3 separate regions of the Homo sapiens genome follow, and regions 1 and 3 are each linked to region 2. The links are contacts of gene promoters, found by promoter capture Hi-C in blood cells and fetal thymus (Javierre and others, 2016). All regions are on one chromosome and are shown on one strand. Each heading gives the region's core, a stretch centred on a gene start or on the middle of the fragment in contact. The rest is flanking DNA. Distances are from core to core; before and after follow the strand shown. Region 1 has its middle 79 kb from the start of EXTL3-AS1. Region 2 holds the start of TTI2 (TELO2 interacting protein 2). Region 3 overlaps ERLIN2 (ER lipid raft associated 2).

Region 1 (4,849 bases), core at 1,052-3,551, 4.9 Mb after region 2:
CTCATGTCTTTATGGTTCTTCTGAGAGATGTTTCTGTTTCATCAGTGTCTAAGAAATATGCCGGCCCCTACTTCTGAGGTCTTGATGACACAGCCTCCATTTATAGATCCTATGTGCAGTGTTTTCACTAGGAGTGAGCTAAAGCTATGAGTCCAGTCTTGCACTTAGTAGGTAAATAATCTGCAGAAAAAATGAGTAATTGGTGAGTCACTCACCTGTTTGAGTTAACTCCTCTAAGTGCCGGTCTGTAACTGCGGGTCAGTTTTTAAAGTTTACCTCCTTTAGAAGCAAAAAGTATGCCAGCTGTGCCTTTTTGGAAGCATACAGGCATTGGAAGATTGTAAAAAACAGTGGGTCATTTTTTAAATTAACCTAACGTGTGTGTATTCACAGTTGATGCTGGAGATACTTGATCTGCTTATTTTTTTAGTTAGCCCATGAATTTGTATTTAAATTTCTTGATCTGAGTGTCAGTGTCTTTCCATAGGAATCACTTGAGGGTTTGGGTTTACTGATGTTTGCAAACCACTGTGCAAAGTTATTGTCTGAATTTAACATGTTTTTAAACTTCCTTTTAAGCTTCAGATGGTGCCTTCTAGTTCTTATGGTGTCGGTGACTATTAATAACTAGATTTTGGTTTTATCTTTTGGGTTTATTGTCCCTCCAGGGAAGTCAAAATGGTAATCACTAACATATACTAATTTTTTCTTGTTTTTAATCTTTTAAAGATTTGTTTCTTTTTACTCACAATTACAAAATGATTTTTATTTTTTGAGACAGGGTCTCACTCTGTCACCCAGGCTGGGGTGCAGTGGGGTGGTCTCAGTTCACTGCAACCTCTGCCTCCCAGGATCAAGTGATCCTCCCACCTCAGCCTACCAAGTAGCTGAGACCACAGGTGCTCACTACCATGCCGGCTAATTTTTTCATTTTTTGTAGACATGAGGTTTCGCCATGTTGCCCAGCATGGTCTTGAACTCTTGAGCTCAAGCAATCCTCCCACCTCGGCCTCCGGATGTTCTAGGATTACAGGTGTGAGCCACCACACCCGGCCTCACAATGCTTTTAAATGAATATTAACGTGAGATGTGGAATATTGTATGTAATAGGCAATTCATAATTTCACATTTTGAAAAAGAACTGATAATTCCAGAGCAAAGTACTCAGAGTTTGTTAAGGACCAGCAGGAATTTCTGCTTAACAAAATATTTAGAATCCCAACAACTCTGAGACTTATCTCCTTTCCCTGGGGATAGGTAAGGTGAGAACAATTGGAAAGAATTTTCTTCAGTTCTGGGGATGAGGAGAATTTTCTTATTATCTCAAGTCAACAGGTATGACTGTCTAGCAAAAAAGGAATGTGAGTTCATTGCTAGCATTTTAGACTTGGAATGAACAATAAATATAATATTAATAGTTCAACCTTCTCAGAGGCAGAAACGTTTTAAAACCAAGCTTGCCTGATTTCCCATCTGCTGCCTTTTACGAGCAGCAAATTTGTTAAGGAGGATCATGTTTACCTGATGAATATCTTTCAGTTTTCCTAATTATAACCTTTATTACTAAATGCCTAAAGGAGTTCACAAGTAAAATCAACCAATTCGTATTTATGGGAATGAAAATATAGGGGGAAGGTTTTAAATAAAAACATATCTTTAAAAACATGAATTATGTTACATGGGGGATAAGGATCAAAAGACACACGTGCTTTGCCAAGCCTTGAAAAGTAGGCAAAGATGGGGTCTAGACTTTCAGCATGGAGCCTTCAGGACAGGACATGCTTACCAAGGGGTGAGACTGAACGGATGGAGCCCTGCAGGGTGACCCAGAAACAGGCTGAGGACAAACACCAACAAAACTCAGCATTCCGAGCGCCCCCTATTCCCGGGCTTCCAATCTGCCAAACTTAACTTTTGAAAAGCTCAAATTGTGGGATCCCAAATTAAAGTCAGCTGTGCTGAGGGGCTCGCAGGTACGGCTGGCTTTGGGGTCCGCATTCTGTGGTGTCCTCTGGGGTAGGTGTGTTTGGGGCTGCAGGGACTGGAGGGCACCCACGGCACGGGCTTACCCACGGGGACAGCGCCTCCTGACAGCGCGCGAGGCGGGCGCGTGGCAGATGCCGCTTACCCCGTACCCGAGGCAGCAGGGGTCGGGACCCCCGCCCACAGTGTGATACGGACCCCTGCCGACAGCCACACTCTCCCAGTTCTCACAAATTCCCGCCTCTGTAGAAACCCAGCCCAGCCCACCCCGGAGTTCACGTCCACACTCCGAGGCAGGGGACATGGACCGCGAGCTTGCAATCGCCCGCCCCAGACGCCCAGAGCAGGCGCCCCACGTCCGGCCCGCGGGCAGGACGACGGGGCCAGACAAAGAGTTTTAAAATCGATCCCCCGGGTAAAGCCCGGGCTACAGCGAGAAGTGCGAAGCCGTCTCTAAATTTTAGCAGCTCGCCGCTTCTCCCGTTGGCACGACGAAGAAAAGACTTCCCACCCCCGAAAGGGAAGATCCCGAAGAGCCCCTACCTCGCTGCAGCGCCAGGTCCCGCGGTCTCCAGCGGCGGCCACTGCAGCCGGCGACAGCGCCAGCGGCCCGGCCCCGCCCTCTCCACGGTCCCGCCCCCTGAGGCCCCGCCCTCGGCTCACCGCATCCCCGGCCCGGCCGGCCGGCTCCCGGTCCCACCCACTGCCCCCTGGGAGGCTCCCGGCTCCGCCCCCCGAATACCCCGCCCACCGCCCCCTCGGCGGCTCCCGGCCCCGCCCCCTAACGCCCCGCCCACCGCCTCCGCGTCGGCTCCCGGCCCTTTCCTCGGAGGCCCCGCCCTCGCCGGCTCCCGGGCCCGCCTTCTCGCGGCCCCGCAGCTGGGTTCAAGACTGTCGTGCAGGCCCCAGAGCCCGGTGCATTGTGGGACGCCGCAGCCAATGCCGAGCCTGCGCTGCCTCCTGGCGGGCGCCGCTGCAACAACACCAGCACCCGGCTGCACACGGCGGAGGGCTATACGGCACCGGGCGCCTAGCGCAGAGGGCGCCGGTCGCTGGGGTCCGGTAAAACATGAAAATGAGCCGGATGCTTAGAGTGCGGGGCTACCTCCCGCTTAGCGACATAAGGAAACGCGAAAACAGCGTTAAGACTAGGGCAAGCTTTCGAAACTAGGGAAAATCATTACAAAGGATCAAACGAAATGACGTCAAGGGGAGGGAGAAACCTGCACGCGTCGTTTTTATTTCTGGGGAAACCACAGGTCAGCTCAGTCTAGAGAAGAACGGGGTTCTGTGTGACAGGGGCTAAAATTGGAATCCAGAACTCTTCCCGTACATGCCCCGAGGAAAAAGTTTAAATGCAGTTAAAAAATAAATTACACAAAAATGTAGTGAAAAATGAGAATATAACAAATGACTAGTAAGTCGCTATTTAAATAAGAATATGAACATTGTCACTACGTGGAAATATTTCTGTCATGCGATGTTAAGTGACAAACACACACAAGACAGCACGTGGCCAGTGATTTCAACTGTGGCAAATCTGCGTGTCCACAAACAGAAGAAGCAGCTTCCAAGTAGCTTAGAGTTTAATGCGTCTTAAGGTTCTTTATTTTTATTAGATCAGTTTTTAACGTTTCTGAGTGGTTGGGACTAATCCTAATTGTGGATGGCATTGCAATATTTCAGTTTTCCCTCACTGTAAGTAATAATTATAAAAAGTGATCCAGGAAGAAAACATTCTGAGGCGTTAGGGAACTATGACAATTTTGCTTGTCTGCAAACCCTGGTGGGGCACAAATGGAAAAGTACATTTAGCAGGGAGTGTATTGGTTAGCTAGCGCTGCTGTCAGAAAGTGCCATAAGCTAGGGGGCTAAATCAGCAGACGTGTGCTGTCTCACAGTCCTGGACGCTGGAAGCCTGTGTTCAAGGTGTGGGCAGTGTTGGTTCCAGTTCTGATGACTGTGAGGAAAGATTGTTTCAGGCCTCTCTCCTGGGTTGTAGATGGCCAGCTTCATGTACACGTGGCATTTTTCCTGTGTCCAAATATATCCCCCTTTTATAAGAACACCAGTCATATTAGATTTGGGGCCCACCCTACCCTACTCCAGCATGCCCTCATCTTAACTAATTACATCTGCAATCATCTGATTTCCAAATAAGGTCATATTCTGAGGTACTGGGGCTTAGGACTTCAGCCTGTCAGTGGGGAAGGAGGGGGACAATTCAGTGCACACCTGGAGATTCAAAGTGTAATCTTTGGAAAATCACACACACTGAATGACAAAAACAATCATAATTAACAGTAATGTACATGATCTTAAATGTATCAAAAAGCCAACAATGGGCACTGTGGCTCACATCTGAAATCCCAGCACTTTGGGAGGCTGAGAGGGGAGGATCGCTTGAGCTCAGAAGTTAGAGACCAGCCTGGGCAAGATAGCCAGACCCAGTCTCTACAAAAATAAGCAAGTTATCCAGGCATGATGGTGCCCACCATAGCCCCAGCTACTTAGTAGGCTGAGGCAGGAGGATCACTTGAGCCTAGGAGTTCAGGGCTGCAGTGAGCTAATGATTACATCACTGTACTACAGGCTGAGTGATAGAGTGAGACCCTATCTCTTAAAAAAAAGAAAAGAAAACAAAAGAAAAGCTAAACGGTTAAATATAGTCAAACCAAATTGATTACAGTGTTTTTGTTTCTGTTTAACACCTTTCTGGCCTTTCCAGTTTAACTGCGAGATGTTAATGAGCTAAGACAGCCTAGAGGCCATGAAGCCTACATGGGGTATGTAATGTGCCTGGATTCCGGTCCAAATGCCTGAGACCGGTGTAGGGGCAGCATCTCTTGCATTTGAACCTCAGGAA
Region 2 (4,175 bases), core at 907-3,406:
GTGAGATACGATGACGCCACTGCACTCCTGCCTGGGCCACGGAGCAAGACCCTGTCTCTAAAAAAATATTTTTTAATTAAATAAAAAATAAAAAGAAATGAAGGCACAGAGAGGCTACCGAACTTTTGCCCAAGGTCAGACAGCAAAATGGAAAGAAGGGCAGGCGAGTAGGCAGCAAGACACCGCAGATGGGACAGTTGCAAGTAGTGCACCAAGAAGCTGGTGCGCTCCCCAAGGTGGGACGAAAATACTGTATGTCCCTCTACCCCATAACCACCTCCTCGCGAGGACAAAGGACACCTGACACGTCACCCCTCCCTCGCCCCTGCGCGCACACACGCCCCTCACCCTACCCCAGGTCAGAAGACCCCGAAGGGCTTTCTCTGGACTCCTGGAACCCTGGAGGCGCAATTGACGCCTTAGAGGCTGAATAAGAGTCCCTCTCCGAGCAGCTGGCGACACGTCTCTCTCGCGCCACCCCTCCCAGGGTCCGAAGCTCCCGCCTGTGCAGTGGCACAAATGAAGTTTGCCTCCTCGGGCTCCTGCGAAACCGTGGAAGCTATGAGAGTCACAAGGTCCTAAATGGAAGCAGCTCCTCGGGAACTGAAGGCCAATCGGACGCAATTCTACCCTCCAGGAAAGCGCAGGAAGAGGGAACAAGCAATGCCGACGCGGCGTGGGGGACCCAACACAGGGCGGTCGCACAGGCGCGACCCTTCTCGCGCCTTCTCAAAACCCAAGCAAACACCACTGGTTCCTACACCCGCCGAGCCCGAGTCTGCAGCCTCCAGCTCCCCTGGCCCGTTCCGGGCGCCGCCTGCGACCCATGCCCAAGACAGCGCTCTGCTGTCCCTGCGCACCCGGCGCCGACACTGGCGGGGCGGGCCCAAGCCGGATCCGCCAACCCGACGACCCACCTCCCTCAGGGCTGCCCCAGACGCCAGCTGGGGGCTTCTACCTTGACGCTAGAATTTGAATTTTCAAACGCTTGTGGCTACAGGCTTTAAAACGCTAGCTCCAGAAACCAGCTAAAGTATTGCATTGAACAGAAAACCAAATACCGCATGCTCTCATTCATAAGTGGGAGCTAAACATTAGGAACACGTGGACATAAAAGTGGCAACAACAGACACTGTGGTCTACTAGAGGGGGCAATGAAAACGGGCTAAGCTGCACTCCAAATCCCAGCATCCCACAACATATCCAGGTAACAAACCTGCGCAGGTATCTCCCAAACCTAAAAAATTAAAGCCATTAAAAAGCTCTGCATTGGCCAGGCGCGGTGGCTCACGCCTGTAATCCCAGCCCTTTGGGAGGCCGAGGCGGGCGCATCACGAGGTCAAGAGATCGAGACCATCCTTGCCAATATTTATACAAAAATTAGCTGGGCGTGGTGGCGCGCGCCTATAGTCCCAGCTACTCGGGAGGCTGAGGTAGGACAATCTCTCGAAAACCGGAGGTGGGGGTTGCAGTGAGCCGAGATCGCAACACTGCAACTCCAGCCTGGCGACAACGCGAGACTCCGACTCACAAAAGAACAAACACAAAAACACATTACACAGTTGGACAACGGAAAAGCACCCGTGCGTGTAGCATACAGCCAGAAAAAAGGGCACCCGAAAACGGTAAACACAAAGCCATGAAACTAGGCCACCTGTTATCATAAGTAACAAGCCCACAAATACAAGTGTTAAATCGATCCTTGAAGTTCAGGTCAGACGGGTAATGTGCCCACGTCGTAACAAGGTTCAAGGGTGGCACATCTCACACAAGCGTATGAACACCCAATCATCACGCTCATGAACTACAAAAGGATCATCTTATAGTTGACATTAAGGAGTGCCAAGTATGTGCCACTAATTTACACATAGGGTGACTACCGTAATGCGATACATCCATTCTTCACGTATAAAATCCTGGATATTTTCAAAGTCCCACTGAGATTCTGTGATTATTCTTTTGTTTCTACCTTAGCAAAGGAAAACAGAAACACAATTAGCGAGCGGATTATTATATATGCAAATTTATTCTCTATAGTTCCACCTCTCCGTCATTTTCCCGAGCCTGGATCTTTATTGCTTTACGACCATACGTCGTGAAATAAGAAGGTGTTGCGGCAGTACTGGCGGAAGCTAGCCTTGCGTTTTGCGGCAGCAATATGAGCTAGGTCCGGATCCTGTTAGACACCGGCGGGCGCGAGCCGTTGCAGGTACCTGGGGGTGGTTAAGTTGGTGACATGGCTCAGAAGTTTATTTCTTTAAATTTTTAAGTTTTTTTTCTTTTTAGTCTTCAGAAAGGCAACAGTAGTCTTTTAACGTCACTGTTAAAAGTGTAAGACTCTTTTACTCCCTGAGAGTCCCCTTTCCCTTTCTTGCGTCCTTTCCTCTTTATTCTTTTTTTTTTTTTTTTTTTTACTGAGACGGAGTCTCACTCTGTCGCCCAGGCTGGAGTGCAGTGGCGCGATCTCGGCTCACTGCAAACTCCGCCTCCCGGGTTCACCCTTTCTCTTTATTCTTATCCCGGTCAGACTCGCCCCCTCCTCCAAGACATCTCTCTGTTTTATTTTATTTGATTTTAGTTCTCTTTGGGTGATCGCTCCTTCCCTCTTCAACGGATCCCTCCCCGCCTCCATCCTCGTTCTGTGGGAGAGACCAGCCTTCTGGTGCTGCAGTCAGGAATGGAGCTTGACAGCGCTCTGGAAGCCCCATCGCAGGAAGACTCTAATTTGTCCGAGGAGTTGTCTCACTCCGCCTTTGGACAGGCCTTCTCCAAGATTTTACACTGTCTTGCCCGCCCGGAGGCACGACGAGGCAATGTAAAAGATGCAGTTCTTAAAGACCTCGGTGATCTAATAGAAGCCACAGAATTTGATAGGTTATTTGAGGGGACTGGTGCACGGCTCCGCGGAATGCCGGAGACACTGGGGCAGGTAGCAAAAGCCCTGGAGAAGTATGCAGCCCCCTCCAAGGAGGAGGAAGGTGGAGGTGATGGGCACTCCGAAGCGGCCGAGAAAGCAGCCCAAGTTGGGTTACTGTTTCTTAAACTGTTAGGGAAAGTTGAGACTGCTAAGAATTCCCTGGTCGGCCCTGCATGGCAGACGGGCCTGCATCACTTGGCAGGACCCGTTTATATTTTTGCCATCACACACAGCTTGGAGCAACCATGGACCACTCCGAGATCTCGGGAAGTTGCTAGGGAGGTGCTCACCTCACTGCTTCAAGTTACTGAATGCGGTTCTGTGGCAGGATTCCTACATGGAGAAAATGAAGATGAGAAAGGGAGACTTTCGGTGATACTAGGGCTTCTCAAACCCGACTTGTATAAGTGAGTACTCCTGCCCTTTGCCACCGACTTGAGCCTCACAGTTTTTTATTTTTATTTTTTATTATTTATTTATTTTCGAGACAGAGTTTCACTCTTGTTGCCCAGGGTGGAGTGCAATGTTGCGATCTCAGCTCACTGCAACCTCCGCCTCCTGGGTTCAAGCGATTCTCCTGTGTCAGCCTTCGGAGTAGCTGGGATTACAGTTGCCCGTCACCACGCCTGGCTGATTTTTTGTATTTTTAGTAGAGACGGGGTTTCACCATGTTGGCCAGGCTGGTCTTGAACTCTTGACCTCAAGTGATCCACCCGCCTCGGGCTCCCAAAATGCTGGGATTACAGGCGTGAGCCACTGCGCCTGCCCTAGCTTAATTTTTTATAGCGTTATACCTCAAAGGAAGCTCAATTTCTTCAGCAGTAAAATAAGGGTGCTGTAACCACGGATCTCTTAAGGCCCAGAAACGTTGTGATTTGCTATAAATGACATAACTGGATAGTGGCAAATTGGAGGTCATAACTGAGATGTTCGGGCTCAGTTGTCCAATGCTCTTTCCAGCCCTTAGGACGACTGCCTAGGAAAATTGGAAATTCTGTCCCACTTACTTGGAGTTAATAATTACAAAATGTGGCCGGGCGAGGTGGCTCACTCCTGTAGTCCCAGCACTTTGGGAGGCCGAGGCGGGTGGATCACTTAAGGTCAGGAGTTCGAGACCAGCCTGGCCAACATTGTGAAACCCCATCTCTACTAAAAATACAAAAATTAGCTGGGCATGGTGGTGGACGCCTGTAATCCAAACTACTCGGGAGGCTGAGGCAGTAGAATCGCTTGAAACCAGGAGGCAGAGATTGCAGTG
Region 3 (4,397 bases), core at 175-2,674, 4.2 Mb before region 2:
TAAAAGAAAAACAGACTTTGACGTCAAGGAGAGCCCCAAGGAAGACTGTTTCTATTAGGAACTCCATCAAACAACACAAAGGGAAAATTAAAATTTACAGTTCTGGAAGCGAGCCCCAGGCTTTTGATGTGCTGTTTGCTTTGGTCCTGATTTCTTTGTCTGGAATCCACATGAGTTGTTTCACAGACAAATGTAGGAACAGCTGTAACTGACTCTCCCCCCACCTTCCTTTCCAGCTGCAATCTCAGAACAGCAGTACCAAAGCTGACTTCTCTGGCATGGGCTTCTCAGGTTTTAGAATCCTCTTCCTTGCCTTCTGCCCATGATATCCTTGATAAGATCCCGGAGGGGCTTAGAGAAAAAGACAGAGTGAAATCAGGCTGGGACTTGTACACTGCATCTCTCCTTTGCTGTCAGCCGCCATCTGCTTTAAGTGGTCCTTTCGTGGTCACCTGTGCTCAAATAAGAGCCTCTGAGGAAGAGAAAGTCTCCGCTCTTTCACTGATGCCAAAACGGAGGCCCATGAAAGCTGGCTAGTAGCAAAAATAACAAGCTTGTTTAACTGGTGGGCCTTGATTGTTAGGATTTTAAGACAGTAGTATCAGTAAACAAGGGACGGTAACGTTTCCACATATAGGATGTGCTCTCACAAGCCTCTGAGCACCGAAGGAGAAATGCCATCAAGTCGGCACCTCACACCTGCCAGGGGTCAACCAATTTAACAACTAGAACTAAATATTACATTTCATATTTTAAGTAATTTTAAGTAGAATACCAACCAAACTTTAAATGGCCCGTATCCTCCATAAGTTAATAACGTCATTCCTCAGACCAAATTATATCTGTCAAGGTGGAAACCTGTGGCCCTGGGCTAGTAGCTTACCGGAAAAATGTGAAAGAAATACTTTTCAAGTTGTTTTAGTAATATTGATGTTTATATGTTATGGAAATGTTGATAAATGCCATTTAAATTGTATTACTAAGGTAGCCGCAGGGAAAAGGCGCAAGGCGCGCTCGTGACGTCATTTCGGCGCGACCCTCTTCTTTGCGTAGAGTTTTTCAGGTTGCTCCTGGAAACCATGCCGAAAGTAGTGTCTCGGTCAGTAGTCTGCTCTGACACTCGGGACCGGGAGGAATATGACGACGGCGAGAAGCCCCTCCATGTGTACTACTGTTTGTGCGGCCAGGTGGTCCTAGTGCTGGACTGTCAGTTAGAGAAATTGCCCATGAGGCCCCGGGACCGGTCCCGTGTGATTGATGCTGCCAAACATGCCCATAAGTTTTGTAACACAGAAGACGAAGAGACTATGTATCTGCGGAGACCTGAAGGCATTGAACTACAGTACAGAAAGAAATGTGCAAAGTGTGGACTGCTGCTCTTCTACCAATCCCAGCCGAAGAATGCTCCCGTTACCTTCATTGTGGATGGAGCAGTCGTCAAGTTTGGCCAGGGCTTTGGGAAAACGAACATATATACTCAGAAACAAGAGCCTCCTAAGAAGGTGATGATGACCAAACGGACCAAAGACATGGGCAAGTTCAGTTCTGTCACTGTGTCTACCATTGATGAAGAGGAAGAGGAGATTGAGGCTAGGGAAGTTGCTGACTCGTATGCACAGAATGCCAAAGTGATTGAAAAACAGCTGGAGCGCAAAGGCATGAGCAAGAGGCCACTGCAAGAGCTGGCTGAATGGGAAGCCAAGAAAGTGAAAATGAAGGGGACCTTGATTGACAACCAGTTCAAATAACCAGGCTTTTTTTCTGAGCCCTAGACTGGAGGCAAGCATTTAGATCAGGAGACAAAGTAACTTCTTGATTACATAGACTGGTTCCTATTTATATCCCAGCAGAAGGCTTTATGTTGTTTCCCATTGATTCTCCTACATGCAGTGAGGTCTTTAACTGAGTCCATTTGACCTGCTTTCTAGGAGATGGATTTTTCTCTAATTTTTTTTCTGTATTTAGATTTTCTTTACTATTTTTTGTCCATTTGATGCAAACTTCTTCAGCTGTGTAGAAACTTTATGAATAGATAAGTGCTTGAGTGTCTCTGGTCTCTAAAGTGGCTGGTTTTATTCTTTCTTCAAAGTTAATAACATGTTTCAAGATTTTTGGACAAAATATTATGGTACGTCATAGAGAAAAGCAGCGTGAATTATATTTAGGTATAGCAAGTCAGATCCTTTGAAGTGACTCTGTCTCTGTTCTTAGAAGGGTTCTTGGAATTGGTTGTGGTTTGAATCTTTCTACTGTCAGAGGAGACCCACTAAAAACCAGAATCTGCATAAAGCTTTCTTTACTTAACACACTGAAGCTATAGGTGAGCCATCCCATGTCAGACTTTATACTCAAAGAAGGAAAAGCCAAGTTGCAGTGAGCGGGTAAGACAGCTCAGATCCGAATGAAAATGGGGTCTGAATAAGTAACCCAAGGGAGCTGCCCTCTAGTCGGGCAGCTAGTATTGCTTCCTTGCATGGATACATAGGAGGGATACATTATAGATTAATAAATGATAGTGAGATAAACAAAATGATCTGTTGTGTATCTTTTACTTTACATTTGCTATTTACAGAGGAGTGTTGTATACATAGGTATTATTTTATGTCACACTGCTTCAGTGATAACTATATCCATGTGTTTGTATCCATGTTTTTATCCATTCAACTGTATTAAAAGGTGTTGGGACAGGAAAAAAAGTTGTATTACTAAGTACACACAAAGAGGTTCTTCAGGTAAACTTCAAAGTATTAGATAATACTTTAATAACATGGGCAAAGAGGATGCGGCAGAGTAAGAAGTGATGAAAATTATGCAGCTTCATGTTTAAAGTCTGGGCTATAAGAGTCCTGAGAGAAGGAAAGTATAGAAGAACCTTCTGAGTTGAAGGGCCAGGACTAGAGACATGAGCTCCTCCTTTATGGATATGACAGATTCTAAGCCAAGTAGTGCTTGCTAGCAAGACTGAGATGTAAAAATAAAAAAGTTTCAAAGCAAATATATTTCCCCAGCTCCTCCATACAAGCAGCTGTACTTCACTAAGCTACCAAGTTTAGCTGTAAGAAAGTAAGAAGTTTGCTAATGAAAAACAACTTTGTATTTTAATTTCCTCTTCAGGGACATTAGGGATCCTTTGTCTTTTTTCAGTGCTTTGAAATGTTCATGTAATGTCACAAGTCCTAAGACAATGGCTAGAGAAAATTAATATTTTATAAAATTCTATTAGTTTGAGGTTAAAAAGAAAAATCAACGGCAAATTTACCAACTTTTTCTTAAAAGCACAGTGAATCCAAAACAGATAAAAGACTACAAACCCTATAAAATGAATTTAGATTCATTTTCTACTGCAGAAACATTAAAAGTAATTTGGATGATTTCCTAAATCTTAAATGGTGCAAAAGGCGGTTTGCTTAATTATGATTGCTGGCGATGTGGATGAGTCCTCCTGTCTGCTATGAAAAATGTTCTTGCTCAGGGTCCCTTTTATGAAGATTCCTGGGAAAAATCATTTTCCAGTCCTAGTGTCAAGAACAGTTATACTATTGGTTAAAAATTCATTTACTTTTGGCATTGGCTATTAGAGAATTTCTGGCAGTGAGTTTAAACAGAATACTTGACTGCAAACAAGTTATAACAGTTACCCAACTGTGTCCTTCCTTTGCTGCTAAGTCAGGTTGCCTTTACTTTGAAAAAGGTAAAAAGGACAAAACATATCTACTTAGGCACGTGGAATCTTTTTGTTTAAAGTGTTTTTCTATTCGTTGCTACAGGTACAGAGTAAAAAAATAATAATCACAAAGGTTCTGAGAACTGGAAGGAGCTATGGTTCTCATCTCACTTCTAGAATTAACTATGAATCATGTCTTTTTCATCACCCATTCCTGGGGGCCCTCCATTCAGTGTTGCATGGTGAGAAGAATGCTGAAGAGCCAGGAGAGGAAGGCTCCTGTTTCAGCCCCACTACTAATTGGCATCTGGCTCTGTGACTTTCTTGCTTTGGGTCACAGTACCCTCAGCTTAAAATGAGGATGCTGGTCTGGACAATCTCTAAGGTTCTTCTAGAATGGACCTTGTCTTCATTATAGAATGATAGTTTAGGAACAGTGGGAACACATTTCCACTCCAGCCTCTGATTGAGGCCAGAAGTGAATACTCTACTCCACTATGGTCCCTGTGCCCAAAGCTCCAGCCCTCTAAGGATCTTGTTGCATAGCTATCAGCATTCTCCATGAACTCCTTTGTGACCAGCTCCTGAGCACAAGATTCTTTAACATTTCCTGTCCATAAGTGACCATCACACCCTGCAGGCAGCCAGGCTTTAGGCAGTGGAGAGACGCGGGGTTCCAGGAACCCTGCTTAAGCACGGCATGCTCAGGAGAGACTTTCTTACCAAACAGCTC

The links. The method cuts DNA at HindIII sites, captures the fragments that hold promoters and counts their contacts. A CHiCAGO score of 5 or more calls a contact.
Region 1: a fragment that was not itself captured here is called in contact with the fragment with the promoter of TTI2 in region 2 in 1 of 17 cell types (activated CD4 T cells); the score reaches 5.4 in activated CD4 T cells.
Region 3: a contact is called between a fragment that was not itself captured here and the fragment with the promoter of TTI2 in region 2, in 1 of 17 cell types (naive CD8 T cells). The highest score is 7.5, in naive CD8 T cells.

The regions. Positions count from the first base shown.
Region 1 is chr8:28,620,488-28,625,336 of GRCh38, reverse strand. It overlaps a transcript of EXTL3 not described here. Among named protein-coding and RNA genes, the nearest start is that of EXTL3-AS1, 79 kb to the left of the region's middle. RefSeq lists silencers at 2,580-2,839, 2,761-3,197. The HindIII fragment of the contact is 1,685 bases long and covers 1,459-3,143 here.
Region 2 is chr8:33,511,116-33,515,290 of GRCh38, reverse strand. TTI2 (TELO2 interacting protein 2) reads left to right here and starts at 2,156. Exons shown (of 8, transcript NM_001102401.4): 1 at 2,156-2,209; 2 at 2,579-3,324. The coding sequence starts at 2,678. It overlaps SNORD13 (small nucleolar RNA, C/D box 13), which reads right to left and starts at 1,816; the gene lies at 1,713-1,816. RefSeq lists enhancers at 175-464, 1,985-2,124 and a silencer at 1,505-1,554. The HindIII fragment of the contact is 19,476 bases long and covers 1-4,175 here.
Region 3 is chr8:37,744,687-37,749,083 of GRCh38, reverse strand. ERLIN2 (ER lipid raft associated 2) reads right to left here. Exons shown (of 12, transcript NM_007175.8): 6 at 4,388-4,397. It also overlaps the pseudogene LOC728024. Among named protein-coding and RNA genes, the nearest start is that of ERLIN2, 10 kb to the right of the region's middle. The HindIII fragment of the contact is 1,737 bases long and covers 556-2,292 here.